Linked DNA regions of Homo sapiens: regions 2, 3 and 4 are each linked to region 1. The links are contacts of gene promoters, found by promoter capture Hi-C in blood cells and fetal thymus (Javierre and others, 2016). All regions are on one chromosome and are shown on one strand. Each heading gives the region's core, a stretch centred on a gene start or on the middle of the fragment in contact. The rest is flanking DNA. Distances are from core to core; before and after follow the strand shown.

Region 1 (3,815 bases), core at 1,243-3,742:
TCCATCCACCTTGGCCTCCCAAAGTGCTGGGATTACAGGCGTGAGCCACTGCACCCAGCTACAAGACTCTTAACCTAGAGAGCCTGAATTTCTTCACTTGTAAAAGGAGGCTGCTGGCCCTAGCATGCAGCTTGTTGGGGAGGATTAAATGAGATGATTATGTAGGGCCCAATGCATGGCTGCTTGTCATGTGACCACTGACCGTTGCCCCCACCTCACTGCCCTTGAGTCCCACTGACCTCCCGAGGCAGCATAAGCAGGAGAGAAGAAGGCTAGTCCTTGGCACCACAAGGCCCCGAGGGCAGCCACAGCCTCGGCCTGGCCTCCTGCATCCAGAGTCACCACCACCTGCAGCTTTGGCCAGAGCCGAAGGGCCAGTCCCCGTGGCCCCTGCTCTAGGGCCTCCCGGAGCTCAGCTGCCCGTTCACGGAGAGGCGCTCCAGGGTTCCCGGCAGCTATCGCCCCAGCTAGCTCTTCACCATCAGTCTCCAGGCCCAAGAAAACATCCAGAAGTTCGACAGCCGTCCCAGCCTCCAGTGCCCTCAGCCCTGGGGACCTCAGTGCGTCCAGCAGCAGGGCCCTAGGGTCCTTGGTTCCAGGGGTGCCCACCTGGCCCAGGGTATTCCCAGGCCAAGGCAGGGGTCGGGGCCAAGGGGATGTAAGCGTCACACGGGCAGTGCGTCCCTGAGCCAGCACTTCTGGGTAGGCCTTGTTTAGGGCTGCCAGACCCAGCAAGGTGGCCTGGAGGAGGAAAGAGAGAATGTTGGTCTGGTGTCAGAGCCAGACCCAGAGCCCCCATTTGGGGGTTCTTTGCCCACCATGACTGGAGGGTTTGGCTGCAAGTCAGAGGTCTCTGGTGGGACTGGGCTGTGGCCAGGACTGGGCTCTGGCCATCCTAGATTACCTGCAGAGAGGCCTCCCCAAGGTCCTGGTTTGAGGTCGGGGGCAGTGGCTGCTCTCCACTGTCTTCCTGCTGGGTCTGGCTGGCCTTGGTCAGAGGGAGATGATTCCGGAAGGTGCTTATGTCTATAGCCCCAATGACAACAGAAACGCCTCAGGAAGCCAGTTTCCCAAGAGTTTCAGGCAAGACTGGTGAGACCCTTGAGGGAGGAACCGAGAATAGGCCTGGGGTAGAGAGGATGTAAGGACCCAGCATGGGAAATTCATCTTGGACAAGAAAGCCAGTCCTGGGTCTCTGGGTCAGGCCACTCCGTTGGCAGTGGAGGAGGTAAGGGGGCCATCAGGCTCTGGAATCTGACGGTCCTGTGGGGTTTCTTTCTCTTTGGGTCACCTCCCCAGACCCTGGGAAACACACCTGTGCTCCTTCTGAGGGAACAGTGGGGGCGCTGGGCTCCCTGTAGACACCACCTCAGGGCCTGCTGCTGGCTCTGGTGCACATGGAGCGTGCTCTGCTCCAGCCTCCGCCGCTGCCAGGTGGCTGCCCAGACCAGGGCCCCCCATGCCACTCGGTGCTGGAGGCCAGCAAGCCAGGACAGCCTGGCATCCTGGGACCGCTGCTGCCTGAGCAGGGCCAATGTTGGCAGCAGCAGCAGCAGCAGCAGCAGTGGCCACAGCAGCATCTCCAAGCAGCTCCTGGGAAGAGGAAGGAACCGAGATATGGGGGCATGCAGCAATTATCCATTTCTCCTCCCACGCTCTACTGCATACAGGAAAACCGAGGAAAAATGAAATTGGGAAGAAGGCAGGACCCTGTGGGGCAGGTGATGCAAAGGAGAGACTATCAAAGCTTTGGAGTCCCACTGACCTGAGTGCAGATCCTGCCTCTGCCGCTTGTTAGCTGTAGGGCCCTGAGCAATTTAGTGGGCTGCACTGAGCTCTGTTTCCTGATCTGCAAAATGGGAATAAGAATAAGAATGCCTCTTTCAGAAGGTAGGGGTGGGCCGGGTGAGGTGGCTATCATCTGTAATCCCAGCACTTTGGGAGGCTGAGGCAGGAGAATCACTTGAGCCCAGGAGTTTGCAACCGGCCTGAGCAACATAGGGAGACTCCATCTCTACAAAAAATTGAAAAACTAGCCCAGCGTGGTGTCACACCCATAGTCGCAGCTACTTGGGAGGCTGAGATGGGAGGATCCCTTGAGCCCAGGATGTCAAGGCTACAGTGAGCCAAGATCGTGCCACTGCACCCCAGCTTGGGCAACAGAGTGAGACCCTGTCAAAAAAAAAAAGAAAAGAAAAAAAAGGGAGAAAAGAAGGAAGAGGAAGGGAAGGTACAGGAAGGGTTTCGGACAGGGTCGGTCGGGCACACAGCAGCTGCGTAACGATATCTCTTGCCCACTCCCGAGTGGCTTTGCTTTCTCTCGGGATCCACCCTGTCCCAGCTCCTTGTCCCTCCTGAGCCCCAGGCTGTGGGGTCCATGCCCACATGCACCTGTCACAGCCCACTTCTGCCTACTCCTGGCACGTGACGGAGACCCCTGGGTGACTCTGGGTCTCAGCACACATCCGGCCAGAAAGAAGGAGCGATGGCTTTAAAAGGCTGGGCCCCAACTGGGAAATCCGGCCACCAGGCCTGAGGGAGGAGCTGAAGGAGGGGGGTGCTCTTAAAGGGGCAGGTCGCCTACAGGACTTCATGTCGGGTGCTAGCCCAGGCTGGCAGTTGGGGCAGTTAGGACCAGACTAGCATGGTCCTCAAACTTGCGCAGGTGAAGGAACAGAAAGGTGTGTGTGGGAAAGAACGCCATTAAGCCACTTGAGCTGGGAGAGGGGCAAGCTTAAGAACTCTTAAAACCCCAACTCAGCTGGGCGCGGTGGCTCACGCCTGTATTCCCAACACTTTGGGAGGCTGAGGCGGGTGGATCATCTGAGGTCAGGAGTTTGACACCAGCCTGACCAACATGGTGAAACCCCATCTCTACTAAAAATACAAAATTAGCCAGATGTGGTGGCACATGCCTGTAATCCCAGCTACTTGGGAGGCTGAGGCAGAAGAATCACTTGAACTTGGGAGGCGGAGGTTGCAGTGAGCTGAGATTGCGCCATTGTACTCCAGCCTGGGCAATGAGCGAAACTCCGTCTCAAAAACAAACAAAACAAAAACAACAACAAAAAAAACCCCATCCTCTCCCTCAAGGTAGTTGAGAAAGAAAACAATTTTATTATTGAATAAGCATTCAACCACAATGTGATGTACATGACAGGTGATCTGCTAAGAGCTTGCAAAGAAGGGAGGAAATCTTACTTTTTTGTATAGCCAAGCGCATACAACCCATTACATACACGTTTTCAAGATAAACAATAACGAGTCCTCAAGTAAGAGGACTTGTCACATATAGTTTATCTTTTTTTTTTTTTTTTTTTTTTGAGACACAGTCTTGCTCTGTTGCCCAGGCTGGAGTGCAGTGGCACAATCTCAGCTCACTGCAACCTCCACTTCCCAGGTTCAAGCGATTCTGCTGCCCCAGCCTCCCAAGCAGCTGGGATTACAGGTGTGTGCCACCACGCCCAGCTAATTTTTGTATTTTCAGTAGAGATGGGGTTTCACCATGTTGGCCAGGCTGGTCTCAAACTCTTGACCTCAAGTGATCTACCCTCCTTGGCCTCCCAAAGTGCTGGGATTACAGGTGTGAGCCACCACACCCAGCCAGTCACATAGTTTATCTTAACTTTACATGGTTATTAGGTGAACATCTGTGTTAGCTTGCTGGCTTTATCCCAAGGAAAATTACAAACTTCTTTTTTTTTGTTTTTTTGGCAGAGTTCTATTCTTGTTGCCCAGGCTGGAGTGCAATGGCACGATCTTAGCTCACTGCAACCTCCGCCTCCCAGATTCAAGCAATTCTCCTGCCTCAGCCT
Region 2 (3,828 bases), core at 785-3,284, 280 kb before region 1:
GGCAAATCACGAGGTCAGGAGTTTGAGACCAGCCTGGCCAATATGGTGAAACCCTGTTTCTACTAAAAATACAAAAATTAGCCGGGCGTGGTGGTGCACACCTGTAGCTACTGGGGAGGCTGAGGCAGGAGAATCGCTAGAACCCAGGAGGCGGAGGTTGCAGTGAACCGAGATCCACCACTGCACTCCAGCCTGCCGACAGAGCAAGACTCTGTCTCAAAAAAAAAAAAAAAAAAAAAAGAATATTTGCTCTAGTGGAATCAGCAAATACCTACAAATACCTATCTGGGTTTGGGACCGCTCCCCAGAACGTCTTAGTCTGCCTCCCCAGTAGCTGAATGTGCTGTCAAACAAGTAACAGATGATTGGGCTGAGCTTGGACTCCAGGAACTGTTACTTGGTAACAGCTAAATGTGTAAACCATTTGGGGGAAATCATGCCAAGGAACCTGAAAACACACACATACACACATTCTCTAAGGGAGGGGCCTTATGAGCTGAATGGAGTCTTTCTGCAGACGGGTGAGTGACCCAGGATTGAGTTCACTTTTAGCAGACACTGAGAGAAGCAGCCCACACAGGAGGCTGAATGAAAGAAGCCTGTTCCCCAGAACACGCCCCTGGGACACAGCCAGGGGAAGGGAATCACTGGGGATGCTACTAAGGGTGCCTCTGGGAAAGACAAAAACACTCATTTGAAGGTTAGTATCTGCAGGATTGGGACTTACGTATGTAGGTATTTATTTATTTATTTTTTGAGAAGACAGGCAATCCCTGGAGTAAATTCTAGAGAGGCAGAATTCTGTGAGTGCCCCTTACTGCGGCAGGCATAGTGTCAGAACGGGGATGGAGCCATAAGCTGTCCAGTGTCTGAGGGGTCTTCCCACTACCGCCCCCCAAGCTGTTTAGGAAGGTTTCTAAGAGGTGAAAATCACCCATCTGGGCAAATGAGACCTACCAGCTGTCCCTCACCCCACATTTTAGTTCAGCTGAGCCAGCTGAAAACACAGAGGAAAGTTAAGGGTGGAGAGGAGTAGGCTAGCTGGCCAAACTGTGCTGTGCACTTTTCCTTATCGTCTCTTCCAAAATCCTCTTCCCAGGAAGACCTCCAGGGACCCCATAACGGCAGAACTCGGCACTGCACGGTATCTGCCAAGGTTGGAGACCGCGGCAGGCGCTGGGACTGGCCCATTGCCAGGCTCGACAGGAGGGCGGCGGCAGCATCCTCCAGCCCCTTGAGGACCTTTCCCCGGCCAGACTTGGCGTCAGCTCAAGGGTGGGGTGGCACCCCGGCCATCTGTCACTTAGGGGCTGGACTCGACGATACCTCCAGTGCGAGGAGGGTCCTTGCTGCGAGATTCCAGTCCTCGCGGCGAGACGAGGCGAGGCCTCGGGCACCCTGGGGCAGCCTGGCCCCGCGTGGCCCGCCCCGGAGGCGCGCATAGCTCATTCTCTCCACTTGGGCGTGGAGCTCAATTTTGTACCCACGGAACCAAGAAGGGCCTGAGCCCGGCCAGTGAGGAATCGGAGTGGGACCAGTCGCCACCGCTTTCTCTACTTCCCGTCCCGGCATCCGATGGGGGAACCCGGATGGAGCCAAAAGGCGTCCCGATGAGCCCGAGGAGCCTCGATAGCTGTGCCCGGGAGGGGTGAGGCGCGCCAGGAGGGGGACCATGCAATGTGGCAGAGGCAGAAGAGGCAAGGATGGCGGCAAGCCCCATGCAAACTCCCAGGAACTGGAATATGTGTGTGTCGCGCGGGGGGAGGGGAGGGGCGTCGACACGCGGCCACCGGCCGGGACCCCGGGCGAAGGCTAACCTAAAGCTAAGACCCTCAAAACTTCCGAGCAGGGCGCGTGGGCACCGAGCCCGCGTCGGGGAAGGCGGTTCCGGGTTGGGGGACGGAGGCAGGAAGCTCCTAGGGCGAGCGGGCTCCAGCCAGCGAAAACAGCCTCCCGTGCTCACCTCTGCCGAAGTCCGTGCGCGGCGCTTCTTCCACAGGCCCGACGAACCCCGCAAAATCCGGAGCACCCCAGCAGCCGGTAGCTTCCCGGGATCCGGCTTTTGTCCCGGCCCAGCCGGACTTTTCCCCGCCCCCATCGGCTCGCGGCGAGAACGGCCCCGCGATTGGCCACACGCGTTCCCTAGCCTGAGCGCCAGGGCTCCTCCCAATTCGCTGCTGGCTTGGCTCCGCCCCACGAGGGCGGGCCCCGGGGCCTGCTGGGACTTGTAGTCCCGCTGGCCCATCCACCGCCTCTTGGGAGCCTGCGGGGCCGGGGCGGGGCCCCGGGTGGGGAGATGGGCCGGGCTAGGCTGGGAGGAGAACGCGCGGTGCTGGGGGTTGTGGCCTGATCGCTTGAGGGGCTGGACAGATTGCCACTCGGGGAGTTGGGGGAGGGGCGGGTAGGATTAGCCCAACTGGCTGTAACGCAGCTTTGGGACCTGGAGTACCCTTGCTCCTTCCCTTGGGAGAAACGGACGTCTGCATCTCGGCCGCACCGAATCCGATTGCTTAGACAGTCTCCTTAAGCAGCAGTGTCTGGCAGGCCGCTTTCCTTTAGCACGTGGAGCCTCTCTCCTCCCTGGACTCTCCCCACTGGGCCGATGAGGCAAGGCTGAGCCGAGGCTAACAGAGCATACTTCCCAGTGTGGGATAAGGCAGGGGCCGCGGTAAGCAAGTGGGGCTAGGAGGGTGCAGGCACAGCGCTGTCCGTCCCACTCACCTGCTCGCCTCAGCACGGATCAGGGCGGAGCTAGGAATTCAATGCGAGATTCCAGCGAAGGGCTGGAGCCATCCCAGACAGTCTCTTGTTCCCACCAACCACAGGCTTAGACACTGGAATGAATGAACTGCTGTCTCCCCCTTCTCCATTACCTGAGACAGATCGAATTTTCCAAACCAAAAACTGGGACATCCAATCTGACAGGTGCTGGTGAACTTGTGGGGCAGAATATGTGAAATCAGTCCTGGAAATCAGGACATGTATTTACCACTCTGACATGCTGCAGCCTCCCTCCCTACCTGCACCCCAACCCTGTAGGTCCGGAGCTGCTCCCTAAGCCTAACAGCTGTCTAGCTCCAGGAAGGAGGCCAAAAGCGTCCACTGACCGACTCAGGTGAAGAGGTCAGCCCAGAATGCAGGGAAGCAGCAGGCCTGTCCCCCTGCCAAGCACTTTGGGTCATACTCACACTGCAACAGTGTTGCGACATTTGCAGACAAAATCTTCTCCAAGACCCCCTCCCCCAATCCTGTTGCTGCCAGGAGTAAGGTAACTGAACTTGCTACCCATGCCTGAATCAAGTGTTCCCTGATGATGTCACTTTCTGGTCCCTTCCCTCCCATTCATCTTTTTGAAATAGCAGTTCCTTATCACCTCTCTTCTCTTGTCCTAAAATGGGGGTGGCCAGTCTTGGTGGCTCACACCTGTAATCCCAGCACTTTGGAAGGCCAAGGTGGGGGATCACTTGAGGTCAGGAGTTCAAGACCAACAAGGCAAAACCCCATCTCTACAAAAAATACAAAAATTAGCCAGGCATGGTGGCACACGCCTATAAATCCCAGCTACTCTTGAGGTTGAGGCATGAGAATCGCTTAAACCCGGGAGGTGGAGGTTGCAGTGAGGTGAGATTGCACCACTGCACTCCAACCTGGGTGACAGAGAAGGATTCTATCTCAAAAAAAAAAAAAAAAAAAAAAAGATACACTCCAGGCAAGGCATGCTGTCTCATGCCTGTAATCCCAGAATTTTGGAAGGCCAAGTCAGGCAGATTGCTAGAGCCCAGAAGTTCAAGTACAGCCTGGGTAACATGGTAAGAGCCCCCACCACCA
Region 3 (4,160 bases), core at 282-2,781, 310 kb after region 1:
AGTCTCTGGATTTTTGACCCCAGAGGGCTGAGGATATGAACAGTGATCTGGTTTTGTTCTGTTCTTTGTCCCCTTGGTTGTCTGTGAGTGATATATCACAGTTTAATTTTTCTTTTCTTTTTTCTGCTGACATGTGTCTCTCATCCCCCTTCCTGTAACTCTCATTCCTGTGTTCTGAAGAGATCATTATTAGTGTCTGGCTGGGAGATTTAACCTGTCTGCTCCTCAGTTTATCTGCTAGTTGGAGAAAGCTTCAGAAATGGCCTTCTACTTTGGGAGCCTTGAACCTTGAAGCCTTCCTCCTATATCTTATAACCCAGCCGAGGTTATGCAGGAGTCCCCTCCTGTGCCCTTCGTTGCATTTTCAGTCCACCTTCTGAGGGTTGCCAGGTGGAATATGTGCATGACCTGGAGGTGTCCAGGCTCTGGTGGCCCACAAGTCTGACTGCACATCACAGTCACCTGGTAGACTTTGAATTTGTTTCTTAGGGTATTAAAACAAATAAGTGGAAGAAGAAATAAAAGTGGCCCATAATTTCATGGTCCTGACAATCCCCTACTGACATTAAAAAAATAAAGCAATAGGTGCACTTGGCTAGAGAATGCATATAGTGCTAACTAAGAAGAAAACCACCTGCCCCCACTACAGTCCTCCTCTTCAGGGGGCATTGTTAACAGGTGGGGGCCTTGCCTCTGACAGATATCTGCCTGTCTTCTATTGATAGGTGTGTGTGTGCTCTATGCATCTAGAAAAAGACACATGAGGAATTGTGTTTTAAACTGTGGCACTGTTCTGCCTCTCGATCTATTACGTTTTTTAAAAGTTAGTGTATCTTGAAGATTGTTTCATAGTGATAATCACTTTTTTTTTTTTTTTTCTGAGATGAAGTCTTGATCTGTCACCCAGCTGTAGTGCAGTGGCACGATCTCAGCTCACTACAACCTCCACCTCCCAGGTTCAAGCAATTCTCCTGCCTCAGCCTCATGAGTAGCTAGGATTATGGGCATGCACCACTACGCCTGGCTAATTTTTGTTTTGTTTTGTTTTTGAGATAGAGTCTTGCCCTGTCGCCCAGGCTAGAGTGCAGTGGCACGATCTTGGCTCACTACAACCTCCGCCTCCCCAGTTCAAGCAATTCTCCTGCCTCAGCTTCCTGAGTAGCTGGGATTACAGGCACCCACCACCTCCCCCGGCTAATTTTTGTATTTTTAGTAGAGACAGGGTCTCACCATGTTGGCCAGGCTGGTCTTGAACTCCTGACCTCGTGATCCACCTGCCTCAGGCTCCCAAAGTGCTGGGATTACAGGTGTGAGCCACTGTGCCTGGACTAATTTTTGGATTTTTAGGAGAGACGGGGTTTCACCATGTTGGCCGGGCTGGTCTCGAACTCCTGACCTTGTGATCTGCCCGCTGTGGCCTCCCAAAGTGCTGGGATTACAGGTGTGAGCCACTGTGCCCAGCTGACTATCACTCTTTTTTATGGTTGCCTAGCATTCCATAGAATATTCCACTGGACATGCCAAAGTCATTATCTCTTTGATGGATGTGTTGGTTGTTCCCAATTCTTTGCTATCACAAACAGCAATTCAGGGAACATCCTTTTTCATATGTCTTTTTTTTTTTTTTTCTTGAGACAGAGTCTCGCTGTGTTGCCCAAGATGGAGTGCAGTGGTATGATCTCAGCTCACTGCAACCATCACCTCCCGGGTTTCAGCAGTTGTCCTGCTTCAGCCTCCAGAGTAGCTGGGATTACAGGCGCCCACCTCTACGCCCAACTAATTTTTGTATTTTTAGTAGAGACGGGGTTTCGCCATGTTGGCCAGGCTGATCACGAACTTTTGACCTCAGGTGATCTGCCTGACTCGGCCTTCCAAAATGCTAGGATTACAGGCATGAGCCACCGCGCCCAGCCCCTTATCCATATACCTTGCCAAAGTTTTGCAAGCCTAGATGTTCCAGCAGTGGGATTGCTGAATCTCAAAGGGTTCATGCATTTAAAATTTTGATAAACCCTTCACAATGATTATACAATTTGTACTTGGGAATATATTTTTAAAATACAGATTTATTGGGCCCCACCCCAGAACTACTAAATTTACAATTTCTGGGAGTAGTATTTGAGAATTTCTATTTAAAATGCAGCTTTTGGGGTAATTCTAATGCAACTAGTTCTCTGACCAGCATGTTAAGGACCACTGCTAGAGTAGGAGGGAGGATTTGTGCAAATAATTAGATCTGAGGTGGGCATTAAACTGTGATGAGAGCTGTGGCAAAAAATGGCACACCAGGAGGTGGAGCTGAGGATGAGGAGCGCAGGGCAGCTGCGCAGGCCTCCTGCACGCTACTCATGCTGCTGCCCGAAGGCCAGGTTGCAGGAGAGCTGCCCTTGAGCTCTTGCCTTGTTTGGCCCCCTGGACAGAAACCATATGAAGTGATTCTGGGGGCTGCTGTTTAAATTCCTTTTCACGCTGTGGCAGGTTAGCACTAATTGGGATCTGTGAGACTTAACTCATTTCTGCCTGGTTTTTTTTCCCAAAGAGTCTTTTTTGCTTTGGGTTTGGAAAAACTCAAGTTTTTTCAAATCAAGTTGACTTTAAAATCTACTTTTGGAGACCCTACAAAAGACTGTGTTTGTGAACTCAGAAGAAGCAAATGCCCCATCAGCGTCTGCCCACGTGCCTGTGGAAGAATTGTTCTAACATTCCAGAGCTGTCTGCTGAAGAAAAGGAGCCCCTACTCATCTTTTTAAGCTCAGCATTCTCTAGCCACAAGTGAATGTACATTAAGCATTTTTTTCCTTCTCTGACCTTGGAAGCTTTTTGTTCCTGGGCAGAGACATGGTACATTTCTGGAAGAAGTTGCTGGAATTCTTGGGCTCCTGTTAAAAGCTTATCAGACTAGGGTACAATCACAATGTCACTTGGCCCCCCTTCCTCTTAGAAAGTCTAATCGTTAGGGCCAGAAAAGCTTAGGCCCTTGCAGCCTTTACAGATAGAGCTGTACTTGTTGTGAGAATCTGTTCATATTAAGGTTTTCATTCAAGCAGGATTCTCAATTAGTGTTGACCCAGGTGAGGCTGGTGCCTCTTGGCACAGCAGACAGAACTGCATATTTCCTCTGAAGCAGGGTAAGGTGGTAATTGTAGGTTGGGCTGGGGCTGGGGAGGCGGTGGTTGGGGTGGAACAGTTGTTTGATTTTACTTAGCCGTTCAGTCAGTGGGTTTTGTTTTTGTTGTTAGACATATGCTTTTCTGAGGTTTGTGTTACTAACCATCGCCCTTCCCACCTCACAGAATGTCATGTTAAAGCCCAGGCAAATTCTACTCTTTCTGTTCATCTGTGTAGGGAACTCTCAACTTTGGTGGGATCAGGGTGGGCAACGGACCGACAGAGGAGGATGCTGAGATTATTCAGCATGACCAGCTCTCCACCCACTCAGAGGACGCAGACGAGGTAAGATCCCGTGGTGTGGGCTTTCTCTCCTTCCACCTCGGGTCAGCCCTAGTCTTGTGTACCTAAGAGGCCTCACTCCAGTCTTCTCCTTGAAAAATAAAAATACTAATTAATATTCAGCCTGCCTTCTGGACCTCTTAGGGCACCACAGCTTTTTCCAGTGGGCCCTGCCCTAAGCTCCAGCTGTTGCCCCCAGAGCCCGCAGCAGTTTTGCTCCTATCTTGAATTCCAGATTTTGCCCGCAGTGCTCTGCACGCAGGTCTCCATTACTGACTGCTCTCTCACCTGAGGCAGAGCAGGCCTCAGCATCCCAGCTCTTATGACCTGAAACACAGGTCACTAAGCACAGCTTCTTCATCCATTGACCCTTCCAAGGATCGTTCCAATTACATTACTGACCAGCTATAATCACTGGTACTTTTGAAGTCCTACACCACTGATGTGTTCTTGCTGCAGATATTTTGTTTGAGCTTTTTTGGTGTCATTTGCCTACTTTTTACAGGGAGAGAGAGAATTAGGCCAAACTAGACTTTTCCTTAAGATACCACCTCCAAGCCCACTCTCCTTGCCTGACCCCTTGTAGCACAAAGCCTCTGAACTGAACTATTAAATCTCATCTACTCATTATGTTCTTTTTAAAGCAAATAAAATAGGAGTTGAGGACTCAAGTTGGACTTTTCAGTCTGTCTGACCACTTTCACTATATA
Region 4 (3,816 bases), core at 484-2,983, 290 kb after region 1:
GCTGCTAAGAACATCCGTGTCTGGTTCATCAAAGTGCGGAAGATGAAGGCCATCTATCACACCCTGAACCTGTGCAACATAGATGTGACTCAGAAATGCTTGATTGCAGAGGTCTGGTGCCCTGTCACCGACCTTGACTCCATCCAGTTTGCACTCAGAAGGGGCACGGTGAGTCCCCAAAGCTAACAATGCAGCTCGTGGCCCGGAAGAGAGGTTCCCATCAATAGTAACATTAATGTCATTTTTGGCCGGGCGCGGTGGCTCATGCCTGTAATCCCAGAACTTTGGGAGGCCGAGGCGGGCAGATCATGAGGTCAAGAGATCGAGACCATCCTGGCTAACACGGTGAAACCCCGTCTCTACTAAAAAATACAAAAAATTAGCCGGGCGTGTTGGCAGGCGCCTGTAGTCCCAGCTACTCTGGAGACTGAGGCAGAAGAATCAAGTGAACCTGGGAGGCGGAGCTTGCAGTGAGCTGAGATTGCGCCACTGCATTCCAGCCTGGGCAACAGAGCGAGACTCTGTCTCAAAAAAAAAAAATAATAATAAAAAATAAATAAATAGTAACATTAATGTCATTTTTATGGCATTTCACCTTCAGAGTTCTTCAATATATTTATTTGTCTTTTAACTTGACAGCACATTTCATACATAGCCTGGCATATAATATGTATATCATAGCGTAGCATAGCATATCTTTATTTTGCATATGTGGAGACTGCAGTTCAGAGAGCTGAAATAATTTGGTCATATGCCCATGATTCTTCAGGGTTGTTCATGGCCAGGGCATCAGTTTCCTGATGCCCTCTCTGTATATGACTGTTTCTGTTTAGTAGTTAATTAGAACAACTACTCTGTCCACAGAAGTGCTGTAAGTGCCTGGAGGAGTACAGAGATGTATAAAACATGCCCTCGAGTATCTTACAGTTTATTAGGAGAGTTCCAACTATGGAGTTGGAAAAAGCTTTAAGCAGGTGGCATTTGATCAGGTCTTTGAAGAATGATAAGTTGTTGGTAAGACTGCTGAATGAAGAGAAGAAAACAAAGGCAGGAAGTATGGTTAGACCATGTATGTTTGGACAAGAACAGGATTTACAGTGGGTTAGCTGAAGAGAAGTACCTGTCTGCATCAGGTAGTTTGGAACTTAATTGTGAAAGGTTCTTAAATAATAGCTTAGAAGATTTAAATTTTATTCCAGAGGAAGTTGAGAGACATTGGAAGTTCTTTAGGGGTAAAGGAACATGATCAAAGCAGTTTGGGTGGTTTTTTACATTTTTAATTTTGTGTTTGAGACAAGATCTTGCTCTGTTACCCAGGCTGGAGTGCAGTGGTGCCATCTCAGCTCACTTCAGCTTCCAACTCCTGGGCTTAAGCAATCCTCCCACTTCAGACTCCCGGTAGCTGGGACTACAGGTGCCCACCATCATGCGTGGCTAATTTTTTGTAGAGACAGGGTTTTGCCATGTTGCCCAGGCTGATCTCAAATTCCTGGGCTCGAGTGATCTGCCTTCCTTGGCCTTCCAAAGTGTTGGGGCCAGGCGTGGTGACTCACTCTTGTAATCCAGCACTTTGGGAGGTTGAGGCGGGTCATCACTTGAGGTCAGGAGTTTGAGACCAGCCTGGCCAACATGACAAAACCCCGTCTCTACTAAAAATACAAAAAAGTTAGCCAGGTATGGTGGTGGGTGCCTGTGATCCCAGCTACTCAGGAGGCTGAGGCAGGAGAACCACTTGAACCCAGGAGGCAGAGGTTGCAGTGAGCTGAGATCATGCCACTGCACTCCAGCCTGGACAGCAGAGTGAGACTCTGTCTCAAAAAAAAAAAAAAAGTGGGTCACCACGCCTGGTGGATCAAAGCAGTTTTTTTGTTTTTTGGTTTTTTTTTTTTTGAGATGGAGTTTTGCTCTTGTTGCCCAGGCTGGAGTGCAGTGGCATGATCTCGGCTCACTGCAACCTCCACCCTCCACCTCCCTGCTTCAAGTGATTCTCCTGCCTCAGCCTCCTGAGTAGCTGGGATTACAGGTGTGCGCCACCACACCCAGCTAATTTTTTGTATTTTTAGTGGAGACGGGGTTTCATCACGTTGACCAAGCTGGTGTCGAACTCCTGACCTCAGGTGATCCACCCGCCTCAGCCTCCCAAAGTGCAGGGATTACAGGCATGAGCCACTTCTCCTGGCTCAAAGCAGTTTTAAAAGAGTAATCTGCTGATAGTATCTAGGTTGGATTGAGGAGTGAAGAGATTCTGTAGGTAGGGGTTCAGTTAGGAGGTTATTGTAGACATAGAGTAGTAAATGATAAGGATCCCCAGGTAGGACTTGACAATGGGAAAAAAAATGATGAATTGTGAGATGTTCTGCAGGAAAAATCAATAGGGCTACCTGGTTCCTAGCAAGGTGCAGGAGAAATACAAGGAGAAAGATTTAAACATCTTTTTGAGGCATCAAAGCTGACTGGCCAGGAGAATTAGGGTTCCAATGAGGGAAGTAAATGTTCAGCCAGAGAAGCTTATTGATTGGGGAGAGATGGTAAGTTCAGTTCCGGGCACATTGAGGTCTATGTGGAAATGTCAAGCAGACAAGGGAACAAAGCTAAGGAAATGGGAGTCATGAGAATGGAAGGGAATGAGACCTCCAAGAGGGAGGTCATAGAGAGAAAAAAAAGGTTGGGGTCTTGCAATGCTATGAGATAGGCAGAGCAGAAATAACCAGCAAAGATAGAAAAGCAATGGTCAGCGAGCAGGAGGAGAACTCCTAAGGAAGAAGGATTTTCACCAAAGATCTCCAATGTCAGGGGCGTGCATGGGGGAGAGAAGCTCTTTGGTCAGGAGCCAGTCACTTTGCCTAAGCATGCTCAGCCAGACTGCAAGGGATCAGGAAGTTAAGAGAAGGTAGTGAAGAAGGAGAGCCAGAGAACATACTTTGCTTTCTCCATGAAAGGGGGAGAACAACTTTCATAAAAAGGCAGATATGGAGGCAGTTCCACATTTTCTTTGGTGACATATTTTAAAGTTAAATTTTTTTCACATTAAGGATGTATTTCAGAGGATCTAATAGAAATCTTCCATTATAAATGTTATACCTTTTCCCAGTTTTCCCAAAAGCTGGGAAAGATAATCTAGTTTTATTTTTAGGTTTATTAGTTTTATTGAGATATAATTTACATGAAAGAAAATACATACATTTTATGTGTACCATTTGATGAGTTTCAAGAAATGTACACCTGTGTAACCACTACCACAATTAGGAGGATAACCTAAGTTTGATAAATGTGCTAATGTTTTTCAGGAACACAGTGGTTCCACTGTACCTTCCATTTTGAACAGGATGCAGACAAACCAGACTCCCCCAACCTATAACAAAACCAACAAGTTTACCTATGGCTTTCAGAACATAGTAGATGCTTATGGAATTGGAACTTACCGAGAGATAAATCCAGGTAAAAAAAAGCTTGTTATCTTTTTCCTCTAGAGTTTTTTTTGTTTGTTTGGTTGGTTTGGTTTGTTTTGAGACAGAGTCTCCCTCTGTCACCCAGGCTGGAGTGCAGCAGCACGACTGTAGTTCACTGCAGCCTCAAACTCCTGGCCTCAAGAGATCCTCCCAACTCAGTCTCCTGTATAGCTAGGACCACAGGCGCACAGCACCACACCTGGCTAATTTTTTATTTTATGATTTTTTTTTGACTGGGTCTCATTCTGTTGCCTAGGCTGTAGTGCAATGGTGAAATCACGGCTTACAGCAGCCTCAACCTCGTGGGCTCAAGTGATTCTCCCGCCTGAACCTCTGGAGTAGCTGGGACTACAGGCATGTGTCACCA

The links. The method cuts DNA at HindIII sites, captures the fragments that hold promoters and counts their contacts. A CHiCAGO score of 5 or more calls a contact.
Region 2: a contact is called between the fragment with the promoter of ACLY here and the fragment with the promoter of GHDC in region 1, in 2 of 17 cell types (M0 macrophages and megakaryocytes). The highest score is 5.6, in M0 macrophages.
Region 3: a contact is called between a fragment that was not itself captured here and the fragment with the promoter of GHDC in region 1, in 1 of 17 cell types (fetal thymus). The highest score is 5.3, in fetal thymus.
Region 4: a fragment that was not itself captured here is called in contact with the fragment with the promoter of GHDC in region 1 in 2 of 17 cell types (endothelial precursors and activated CD4 T cells); the score reaches 5.8 in endothelial precursors.

What each region holds. Positions count from the first base shown.
Region 1 is chr17:42,192,002-42,195,816 of GRCh38, forward strand. GHDC (GH3 domain containing) reads right to left here and starts at 2,493. Exons shown (of 10, transcript NM_032484.5): 1 at 2,392-2,493; 2 at 1,766-1,849; 3 at 1,316-1,593; 4 at 905-1,026; 5 at 240-741. The coding sequence starts at 1,580. RefSeq lists enhancers at 981-1,511, 2,406-2,635. The HindIII fragment of the contact is 986 bases long and covers 1,746-2,731 here.
Region 2 is chr17:41,916,917-41,920,744 of GRCh38, forward strand. ACLY (ATP citrate lyase) reads right to left here and starts at 2,035. Exons shown (of 29, transcript NM_001096.3): 1 at 1,964-2,035. RefSeq lists silencers at 1,438-1,677, 2,158-2,417. The HindIII fragment of the contact is 30,796 bases long and covers 1-3,828 here.
Region 3 is chr17:42,504,175-42,508,334 of GRCh38, forward strand. ATP6V0A1 (ATPase H+ transporting V0 subunit a1) reads left to right here. Exons shown (of 22, transcript NM_001130021.3): 18 at 3,346-3,453. Among named protein-coding and RNA genes, the nearest start is that of MIR5010, 7.9 kb to the right of the region's middle. The HindIII fragment of the contact is 2,565 bases long and covers 250-2,814 here.
Region 4 is chr17:42,487,200-42,491,015 of GRCh38, forward strand. It overlaps ATP6V0A1 (ATPase H+ transporting V0 subunit a1), which reads left to right. Exons shown (of 22, transcript NM_001130021.3): 10 at 1-168; 11 at 3,288-3,438. Among named protein-coding and RNA genes, the nearest start is that of MIR548AT, 5.7 kb to the right of the region's middle. The HindIII fragment of the contact is 1,543 bases long and covers 963-2,505 here.